Linked DNA regions of Homo sapiens: regions 1 and 3 are each linked to region 2. Evidence: promoter capture Hi-C in 16 types of primary human blood cells and fetal thymus (Javierre and others, 2016). All regions are on one chromosome and are shown on one strand. The core of a region is centred on a gene start or on the middle of the fragment in contact, and the rest is flanking DNA. Distances in the headings are between cores, read along the strand shown.

Region 1 (3,587 bases), core at 279-2,778, 960 kb before region 2:
TTGGTAGAACAAGGAGAGGGATGTCAAGTCAACCAGAGTAGGACAGAATAATGACAAGAAAAAGAGACAGCTTCCACTCACAAGAGTGAGGGAAGATACCAAAAAAAACAAAAAATGGTCCTCATAGATGGCACTATATTGATTGGCTGCTCTGGTTATTGTTGAGATGTGATAGACCTGAAGCACAACAAGTAGTTCCATTATGTTCAGTATAATCATTTTAAGGCAGAGAAATATATGTAAAATGAATTTTGGGAAACATCAGTTAGCTAGAAAATGCATTTTTGTGGAACATCTATTCCAAAAGACATTGAATAAATGAGTTGTTTTTGGACTGAAAACAAGATCAGAATTTGCCCTTTACGTTCAAAAGGCCTCATTCCATTTTGCTTTAATCTAATTTTAGGTCACATTTACATCAGCCCACTTGGCACAACCCTTATGAGATGGGGAGGGTGGTACAGTTTTGTCTAGCACGGGCTCTGGAGTCAAGCCTGGGTTTGAATTCAGGCTCCATCACTGCCTTGCTGGATGACCTGGGGAAGTTACTTAACCTCTTATTTGTAAAGAGAGAATAAGAGCAGCTACTTCAAGGGTTGTTGCTGGACATCATCACAGCACCTGTTGCATAGTGAGGGCTCTAGGGTGCTACCTGCTCAGGTAGTGGTGATGATAGCACCATTATGTGCTTTCCTCAAATACCTCTCTGAATCTCAGAATCAAATAATGAAGGAGCTCATTCCACACATCTATCTTTTCTTAATTATTATTTCTGATATTCTAAAGACACATGTTTGCATGCAGGTACCCAATCCAACAGCGTTTGACTTTTGTGGTCAAGCTAGAGAATGTCTATTCCAGGGGCTTCAAGTACAACCTGTGTCTGTTCACTCTTGTGACAGCAAGATGCATGTCTTTCATTAGTAGACATTAGCCTTTTTGCTATCTGTCACTCAAGTCTGCAGGAAACAAACTGTTACTATATAGGGACCAGATGCCTCATTGTCTTGGTCACTATATAAAGTCAAGGTTATCCCCTTTCTGTGGCCACAGAACAGGGGTTCCCAGGTTTTTCCCTTTCTGCTTATCTAGGTTATACGTTCCCAGCAAGTCCCCCCGTAGACCTCCTGAACATTTTGCCTTTGGGTGTCCAGTGTCCACCTTCCTCAGATGACCTCAGGTGTACTGGGGTTCTGCCTGTCTATTTAGTAAAATGCCCACCCCCTTTTCTTATTTCCTATCGAATTTGGTAATAGAAAATCCATGAAAATATTATTCATGGGACATGGTAGGAGCTTAATAAGCATTTTTCCTTCCTCTTTCCTTCTCTCTCAGCCATTTTGCAGTCAGGAATCTCCACTGATGCCTATGAAGCTCATTCAGTCATTTTAGGCTCTTGACAAGTTGCCTCCAATGACATAGAGCACACAGGGCACAGTACTTTTATTGAGTGTTTCAGAGAGGGAAAGAGAATGAAGGAAGGACATAAGATAGCTAGACACAGCTGTGTCTCATCCGAACAGTAACTTTGTGCAACTTACAAAAAAAAAAAAAAAGATAACTTCTCTGCAGATGTAGCTCACACCAGGGCACATGACTTAATAAGCAGACCATGGCCTGGATTTCAGTTGCTCTGCCAGGCAGTCTTATGTGATGCATATATGATGGTTCTATACTTAGTGCCAGTTAGTTGAAGTCTGTGGGAAATCATTGAGAAGTGCAGCCAGTGTCCTACCAGGAGGGGTTTCAATGATCCTATCAAGAGAGAACCTGTGAATCCACAATCCAGAGTACTGCATTTTAAACTATGTGCTCTAGATTTGGGAGCCATCTCTATGCCTTCCACTAGACATGGTTTATGTCTACGGAGAGCATATGCTAGACACCACACTAAACCCTTTACATTATCATTTAGGACACACAGCCACTTGTAGATGAGAACTATGGCCAGTGGAGGGTCAGTGACTTGTTCAAGGCCGTACAACTAGGTATCAACCCAGTTCAGACTCAATCCTAGCTGTGTCTGACCCACCAGATAGTGGCTTGGGGAATTCTACCCTGTAAACATCTCTCAAATCTACCACCACAGCCTCAGTTGAAGGCCATAATCTCTTGCCTGGACCAACGCAACAGATGGTCCACTCAACCAAGCCCTTATAATCCTCACTCAATTTTCTGGCCTAAAATCTGTAGTAACTGCCATCAACCACCAATGAAATAAAGGCCAGACCCCTTAACATGAGAATAAGGAGCTCTTCTTGATCTGTCAGACCCTTGATCTGGCCTCATCTTCCCACTATCCTCCACTCCCCAAGACTGGATGATCAAGAGGGAAACTAAGCTCATGTTTAGGGTACCAGCAACTTAGTTTTTTTCTTAAAAAAAAAAAAAAAAACTTTTATTTTAGGTTCAGTGGTACATGTGCAGGCTTGTTATATAGGTAAACGTGTGGCATGGGGGTTTGCTAAACAGATTATTTCATCACCCAGGTACTAAGCCTAGTACCTAATAGTTTTTTTTTATTCTCTCCCTCCTCCCACCCTCCACATTCAAGTAAGCCCCAGTGTCTGTTGTTCTCCTCTTTGTGTCCACGTGTTCTCATCATTAGCTCTCACTTATAAGTGAGAACATGTGGTATTTAGTTTTCTGTTCCTGTGTTAGTTTGCTAAAGATAATGGCCCCCAGCTCCATCTATGTTCCTACAAAGAACATGATGTTCTTTTGTATGGTTGTATAGAATTCCATGGTGTATAATGGGGCACCTTCAACTTTAGAAAAAATTTGATAATTGATCCTCCCCCAAAAAAACATTGAAATAATCATCAAATTTTTTAGAAAGCACTCTGTTGAACTTAATCTTTCCTTTTACTTTGATATTGATATCATTTTCAATTACATATTGATGGCAGGGAGCACCAAAGGTTTTAATCAGGCCCTGATTAAGCTAGATGTTCCTAGTACAATGCCTTTGAAAATACTGTGTTCTCCACTAGAGAGGACCCTCCCTGACCCACCACGACCATTTCCTCTTGAGTTTTAAGATCTAGCTCACACTCTTAATTGTCTGAGACAAGATTGGACACTCCCCCTTTTGCGCACACAAAGTGCTGTTGTTTGTACTTCAGTGTTCGCTTTTGCTACCTAGGGTTGTAGGTTAGTGTGTATACAAGTCTGTATTCCCTGTATGGCTATTTTGGGAGTTTCTTAAGAGCTTCTGTTATGTTCATACTTCCCTCCCCAGTGCTAAACAGAAATTTCTTTAGGCATTTCAAAAGATCACTCTGCATAGGGCTCATTCCCTGATGTTTGGTCACGAATGAAAGACTACATACATGCATTAATACATGTACACCCTAGATGGCTTAAGAATGAGCCTATATTTAATGTATTTAAGAATGTCTTACAATCTAAAATAATTTTAAATAAATGTCATGGGTCAGAAATTCTGAAGACCAAACTGTGAGACAGATTCATGGTTAAGACATTTATTGGGCAGCATCCTTGAGATCAGTACCTGGGGAGTGAAAGAAGCAACACTGGCAGGGAGAGAGCTAAACCGACCGCTTTGCAGTTGCTGCTGGAACCCT
Region 2 (3,810 bases), core at 376-2,875:
GCAGTGGCGTGATCTCAGCTCACTGCAATCTCTGCCTTCCAGGTTCAAGAGATTCTCCTGCCTCAGCCTCCTGAGTGGCTGGGATTACAGGCACACCACCACACCTGGCTAATTTGTGTATTTTTTAGTAAAGACGGGGCTTCATCATGTTGGTCAGGCTGGTCTCGTATTCCTGACCTCGTGATCCGCCCTTTTAGGAATAAATGTAAAGTTTAGTAGTCATTGTAATGTTTTCTTCAAAAGTGCACAGGGATATATTATGTATATGTGTTACGTAAATGTAAACTAAATGTTATATATCATTGCTGAACCAAGTAAAGCTCATAATTTCCGTGCAAAAGTGGAACATTACATCTAAAAAGGATCTTATATCATCTCTACTCCAATCCTTTCTTAGAAGAGGAAATAAGGCCCAAAGAATGTAAATATCCAGTTGCCAGAGGTAATCAACAACTCAAGATTCCGATCCCAGATCTTCTCTCGAAAGTGCTTTTTCACTACAATGCATTTCTTCTCTACTAAGATATTAAAATGCCTAGTAATTAAGTAAGACCCAATGTAATCGGTTTTACCAAAACAGGCACTAGCACTGCTTTCAAGACAAAAATGCCTTTTATCTGCATTTCGCTTCAAGGCATACATAGGCCTCACACTGATAAACCTGCCTACTGACACCATTTCTTTCACAACGAAAAAACTGGTACTCACATAAGTAATTTGTTCCTGGGCTTTGGAGACAGACAAGCTCTTCATTATTTCCCAGGTGTATGATTTTAGTCAAGATGCCCAACTCTCTGTACCTCAGTTTAAAGATTAATAAAATGGAATAACATGTAAACTCCTAGAGTTGACAATTCCACTTAGTGCAATAGCTGGCACATAACTTCCCAATAATAAAAGGTGATGTTATTACTATTACTAAAAATCATCGTCGTTAATAATGTTATAAGCCTGGCAAACAGAAGACTAGAACTCAATCCCTGCCTTCCAGGGCTTGGTCCTTTCAGCAACACAATTTAGGGTATTTTAAGGCGTCTGGGGTGAGGAAGAAGCGGAATGTACCTGCAGCCAGGAATTAACAAGCTGACCGTCGCCCTGGGCTCAAGGTCACTCGGTGAAGCGAAATTCTACGGGAACTGTTCGTCCGTCACCAGGAAGGGAGGTCGAGGAGGCTAAGCTGCTCTCGCCTCCCCACCCCGCCTTTCCCGAGGGCCGGGAGGCTGCTACCTAGCACCTGCTGCAGCCTTCAGCGGGCTATTTAAGGCGTTAAAGCAGACGATAAGAAGCAGGGAAACTTTCCCCGCTGGCACCTAGCTTGCAGACCCGGCCACGTTTAGTTGCAGGCGCCTGGAATACTCCGCGGTCCCAGACGTGACGTAGCAGCGCGGGCGAGCCCCACATTCTATTGGTCGCTGCCGCCCAATAGGAGGAGCGGTGCGCGACCCCGCTGAGCAAGCTTTCAGTCTTCCCAGTGTCTCCGCCCCTAGTTCAGCCATCTCCATGGTGACCGCTACCGGTTATCCATTTGGCCGCGCAGGGCGGAGTTGCGTCATTGCCTATGCGCCGGAAGGGCTAGTCCTTGCCCGGCGCGACCTGATGATGCCGAGCCCAGGCCGGTTCCGGCGAAGTTAAACCCTCGGAGCTGGCCTCGGACTGCTGGGGCGTTACCCCTTCGGCCACCCCCGCTGACCATGGCAGTGTTTCATGACGAGGTGGAAATCGAGGACTTCCAATATGACGAGGACTCGGAGACGTATTTCTATCCCTGCCCATGTGGAGATAACTTCTCCATCACCAAGGTAACTTCAGGGTCCCGCCCGGCGGTTCACCCAAGCAAGCGCAGTTTGGTTCCGCCCGTTCCTTCCATCATTGGGTAGCCTTTGCTGCGCTGTGTCACCCACGCCCTCTTTCCCGTTGCTGAATCTTCCTCCTCCCGCGTCCCCCCACCCCAACTAATGCCCTGAGCTCTCTCGGTAGGCACGCAGTTCTGGCCTTAGATTAGGTCAGGGAGAGGGTGGCGGAGAGCCTCTGTCTCTCTGCCCGATCCCTGCCTTAGGGTCCCAACCTGGGATATTTCTGTCGAGGAGGGGACTCGTTTTTTGTTTCCCAGGGCTTTTGGGGCGACCGAAGCTCGCCTGACCTTCCTAGGTGTTTCCCCTAAGTGACGCTTCTAGGGGAAAATGATGTCGGCATTTCTCGCTGAAGGCCCTGGGGTTCTCACCCACCTTGGGGGGAAGGCAAGCCACCAAGAGACTTGCATCTAGGGGTGGGATAGGTTTGGGGGAGGAGATGGCGAAGAGAAGCTATCCTGACCACATGGTATTTGATTTCGTTGTAGGAAGATTTGGAGAATGGGGAAGACGTGGCAACGTGTCCTAGCTGCTCTCTCATTATAAAAGTGATTTATGACAAAGTAAGGGATATAATTTTAAAACGGGGGAAGGGTATTGTAAGTCAGTGGCAAGGACTTAGATCAGCTTGTCAGTGATGAGTGCAGGAGAATGTTTCATTGTGCTAGGTAAAGTGCGGTATTTTTTTAGGCAGGTTTTAAACACCATTGATAAACAGCCGAATAGTAAATTAAAACGTTTAAAGTTCAGATTACGTAATTTATTTTAGCTTTAGAGATAAATCTAGCTTTAGTGAAAATTATTATTTATTAAATAGAAAGTATATAGATTATTTTAGTGGACAATTTTTTATATTTCTCTTCTATTTAATATGTAATTAAAATTGTTTAGAGCTGCTAGACTTACTTTGAAGGGAACAATTGTATGGTATTTCGTGCTGGCTTATACACAGAATTCTGCATTATCTTGTTTGAGATATAATTCCTAGGTGCAGCTTTACAATTTCATTTTAGTCTTTAGTTGCCCTATTATCTTTCACCCAAGGATGTTGACAATAGAAAAAAAAAATGTTATTACTGCCCACTCCTACCCAAAGTTTTGTTCAGTACTTGGAATGGAATCTTAGGTAAGGACCTTAACACTCTCAAGGATGAAGTCCAAAATGAATATAGGGAAAGTGGGGATGAGGCACAGAGCCTCATGAGAGAAGCGGGCTATAATTTAGACTATAATTTAGAAATATAATGATTCATTCTTGTATTAAAATGTGCTCTGCAACAGAAAGCAAACGGTAAGGAAGATCAGGAGTGCTGGTCTGGGAGGAAGTTGCAGTTTTCCATAGGGTGATCATGGCAGGCCTTACTGAGAAAGGCCTTAATAGGTAAAGATTTGAAGGAGGTGAGGGAGTGAGCCATGTACATATGAGGGTATGAGGTAAGAGAGTCGAGCAAAGGATCGTTCAGTGAAGGGGACCTAAGACAGGAACATGCCTGATTTTATCAAGGAACAAAAAGGAGGCCAGTGTGACCAGAGCAGAGCAGGATGAGAGTAGCGTAAGAAGTTGTGGATCACTTTAAGGACTTAGGCTCTTGTTGTGAGTGATATAGGGAACCATTGGGGGATTTTTGAACATAGGAGTGCTATGATCCAACTTAAGTTTTTTAAAAAATGATTCTGGCTGCTGTGTTCAGAGTAGCCTATAGAGAGCAAGCATAGAAACAGGAAAACCAGTGTAATAGGAGGCTATTACACTAATTAAAGAAGGAGATGGGTGGCTTGGACCTGGTTACAGCAATGGAAATAATGAGAAGTACTTAGATTCTGGATACGCTTTGAATAACTGATTGGATATAGGGTGTGAAGGAGTGAGACAAGGATGATTTCAATATTTGTGACCTTAATAACTGGGAGGATGGAGTTACTGTCAATTGAGGGAATGTAACTATAGGTATAGGGGTTG
Region 3 (3,728 bases), core at 314-2,813, 640 kb after region 2:
TGCTGATTGTATAGTGCACACAACATCTCTAGATGTATGGTGGATGCAACATAACTGTATGATGGATACAACCTCTCTAAGCCTGTGGTGGATACAGAATCTCTAAGCTTGTGGTGGATGTAACCTCTCTAAGCATGTGGTGGATACAATGTCACTACATCAAGTCCCATTACCCTTGTGCTCATCTCTGCCAGTACTCAGGAGTGAAAAATGCAGATGGAGATGCTCAGGATGCAAAGAGTGGAGAACAATGTGGTGGGTAATAGGGCCAAGGAACCCTGTTCCCCAAATCAAAAGAATAACCCTTGGGGCTGGGCATGGTGGCTCATGCCTGTAATCCCAGCACTTTGGGAGGCCAAGGTGGGTAGATCACCTGAGGTCAGGAGTTCAAGACCAGCCTAGCCAACATGGTGAAACCCCAACTCTACTAAAAGCACAAAAAATTAGCCAGGCGTGGTGGCAGGCACTGTAATCCCAGCTACTTGGGAGGCTGAAGCAAGAGAATAGCTTGAACCTCGGAGGCAGAGATTGCAGTGAGCCGAGATCGTGCCATTGCACTCCAGCCTGGGCAATAAGAGCGAAACTCCATCTCAAAAAACAAAACAAAACAAAACAAAAGAATAACCCTTAATAGGATAGGCTAGAAACACTGACGCTGGATGATAGTAGAAATTATGAAAGAAACAATTTAAAAAGCTAAAGTAAACCACAGTGCTGGAAATAACACATCAAAGGCCACCTTCTCTCATGCAGAGGCCAAGAGGCATATATTTAGGAGTGGCATAGTCAAAATTACCAAGAGAGGCCAGGCACAGTAACTAATGCCTGTAATCCCAACACTTTGGGAGGGTGAGGCAGGAGGATTGCTTGAGCCCAGGAGGTTGAAACTAGCCTGGGCAACATGGAGAAACACTGTCTCTACCAAAAAAAAATTTTTTTAATTAGCTGGGCATGGTGGCATGCACTTGTAGTCCTAGCTACTCGGAAGGATGAGATGGGAGCATCACTTGAGCCTGGGAGGCAGGGGTTGCGGTGAGCTGTGATTGCAGGACCCTGTCTTAAGAGGAACAGCAAAAAGCAGGCAAATGGGTCCTGGTGCCGTAGCTTCTGAGAACCTGTGGAGGTGCTCTTGATCCATGCGTGGTGGGAAGCACGGTGAGCCGGCATGCCGTGGCTGCTCAGGGGTGTTCGGTTGGAGGGCAGAGCTCAATCAAGAATGATGGTAACCTTTCCAGATCTGTTCACCAACTTGGCTGTCTTCTTCACCCATGGCATGGCAGATGTGTAGAGAAATGATTAGTATCTCTATCTTTGCCTTTCTTCCTGGAGGCATTGGACATTTTGGTTTTCTTCTGCTTTGGTCAAATGAGTAACTATTTGCATGCCTTTTTTCCTCTGACAGACGGTTCCAAGTCAGCCATAGCTGCATTCTGGTTCTAACACAAGTGCCATTGCCTTGTGCCATCTAGAGTCTCAGTAGGACAGACATATGACTAGCTCCCCTATGTCCTATAGCTTCTTTTTCTTTTCTTTTCTTTTTTTTTTTTTTTGAGACAGGGTCTTGCTCTGTTGCCCAGGCTGGAGTACAGTGGCATGATCATACATAGCTCACAGCAGCCTCAAACTCCTAGGCTCAAGTGATCCCTCCCCAACAGCCTCTCAAGTAGCTGGGACTACAGGTGCATGCTACCATGTGTGACTAATTTTTTAATTTTTTGTAGAGATGGGGTCTTGCTATGTGACTCAGGCTAGTCTCGACTCCAGGCCTGAAGCAATCCTCTCACCTAAAGTGCTGGGATTACAGCTGTGAGCCACCATGCCTGGCCTCTGTCCTACAGCTTTACCTGGCATGAGTGTCTGAGTCCTCCAGAGGTGGGGCTCCCTGAGGGTGCTGGGAGTACAGGATTGGGTAATGGAGGTTTCAGCGTCTTCCATGATAGTTGTAGGTGCAACATTCCTCAGCATTAGAGGCAAAGCAGAGGATCATCTAGCTCCTTTTGTGAAGAAGTTACTCTTAAAGTAGAAGGAGACTGCTACCCATAGCCAGGATTTCACCCAAATCTATTCTGACCAAAAGCCCACATGCTTTTTAATGCAACCACACTCAAAATAGTGGTGGTGGTGGGGGAGGTTGATTGAATATGATACTGGGATGGATGAATAACAACAGGAATAATAGCATCTTAGGCCATACACAAAAATAAACTCAAAATCAGAAGTTGAATATCAAATGTTAGAAAAGCTAGCATAAATTAGAATTAGGTATCAGATACTTGAAACAACTTTCTAAAATTTGGAACAGTTGAAATAAAAGAAGAAACAGATTGACAAATTAAAATGTACATGCAAAAAATAAACATCAAGACAACACTTATAAACAGGCAATGAACAAGAACAGATTTTAACAAGAAAATAAATCATAAACAAACACTTTGGAAGGCTTTGAACTTATATGCAAAATAAAAAATTAAAACTGGGCCAGGCGTGGTGGCTCACGCCTGTAATCCCAGCACTTTGGGAGGCCGAGGCAGGCAGATCACGAGGTCAAGAGATCGAGACCATCCTGGCTAACACGGTGAAACCCCATCTCTACTAAAAATACAAAAAATTAGCTGGGCGAGGGGGCGGGTGCCTGTAGTCCCAGCTACTTGGGAGGCCGAGACAGGAGAATTGCTTGAACCCGGGAGGTGGAGATTGCAGTGAGCCGAGATCGCACCACTGCACTCCAGCCTGGCATGAGAGTGAGACTCCGTCTCAAAACAAACAGAAAAAACAAAACAAAACAAACAAACAAACAAAAAACAACTCCAGAGGGACCCAGTCTTAGATGGAGGCACCCGCACTTTTGTAGGTTTTACCTCTAGGAGTTCTACCAGGTTCTCACAATGAAGACTGGAGAAAAAAATCCTCCCATGCTTCTGCCAGAGGAAGAGGGAAAGGAAACAAAGCATTCTGGTCTTTAGCAGGCCTCTCCTCCAGAGAAACTATTTTTACCTATTGGGGTTTTATCAAAGCTTAACTGACCTGGGGGAAGGGAAATACCCAACTCTAGCCCCATTCTGTCCCGCCTGAGTGGGGTTGGGGGCTGAGAAGCACTTGTAAAGTTCACAGTCCATAAACACAGGCTCCCTAAAGATCCCTAAAGACAATAGAACACATTCCCTCCCACCACATTTCAATTAAATGCCTTTTTACTGCTGTTCCTTTACTTAGTACATCGAGTCCAACTTCCAACAAAAAATTACAAGGTATACTAAAAGGTAAAAAATTGAGTTTGAAAACAGAGCAGGCATCAGAACCAGAGTTAGGCCAGGTGCGGTGGCTCATGGCTGTAATCCCAGCACTTAGGGAGGCTAAGGAGCTTAAGGCCAGGAGTTCAAGACCAGCCTGGCCAACATGGCAAAACCCTGTCTTTACTAAAAATACAAAAATTGGCCAGGCTTGGTGGCACACGCCTATAGTCCCAGCTACTTGGGAGGCTGAGGCACGAGAAATGCTGGAACCCAGGAGGCGGAGGTTGCAGTGAGCTGTTATCACACCACTGCACTCCAGCAGTGACAGAGGGAGGTGACAGAGGGAGACTTTGTCTCAAAAAACCTCCCAGAAGAACCAGAGTCAGATATGGCAGGGATGTTGTAATTATCAGACTAGCAATTTAAAATAAATATGATGAATATGCCACAGGCTCTACTGAAAAAAAAAACAACAGCCAACATGCAAGAACAGAT

What was found. Contacts are between HindIII fragments. The CHiCAGO score rates a contact against its expected background, and 5 or more counts as called.
Region 1: a fragment that was not itself captured here is called in contact with the fragment with the promoter of DPH3 in region 2 in 1 of 17 cell types (fetal thymus); the score reaches 5.5 in fetal thymus.
Region 3: a contact is called between a fragment that was not itself captured here and the fragment with the promoter of DPH3 in region 2, in 4 of 17 cell types (megakaryocytes, naive CD4 T cells, endothelial precursors and 1 more). The highest score is 6.8, in megakaryocytes.

The regions. Positions count from the first base shown.
Region 1 is chr3:17,226,661-17,230,247 of GRCh38, reverse strand. All of the region lies in intron 18 of TBC1D5 (TBC1 domain family member 5), which reads left to right. Among named protein-coding and RNA genes, the nearest start is that of PLCL2-AS1, 170 kb to the right of the region's middle. The HindIII fragment of the contact is 4,917 bases long and covers 1-3,587 here.
Region 2 is chr3:16,262,758-16,266,567 of GRCh38, reverse strand. DPH3 (diphthamide biosynthesis 3) reads left to right here and starts at 1,625. Exons shown (of 3, transcript NM_206831.3): 1 at 1,625-1,799; 2 at 2,339-2,413. The coding sequence starts at 1,692. It overlaps OXNAD1 (oxidoreductase NAD binding domain containing 1), which reads right to left and starts at 1,356. Exons shown (of 9, transcript NM_138381.5): 1 at 1,063-1,356. RefSeq lists an enhancer at 1,484-1,793. The HindIII fragment of the contact is 11,235 bases long and covers 1,459-3,810 here.
Region 3 is chr3:15,624,603-15,628,330 of GRCh38, reverse strand. The region is part of intron 1 of BTD (biotinidase); the gene reads right to left. Among named protein-coding and RNA genes, the nearest start is that of BTD, 25 kb to the right of the region's middle. The HindIII fragment of the contact is 2,907 bases long and covers 110-3,016 here.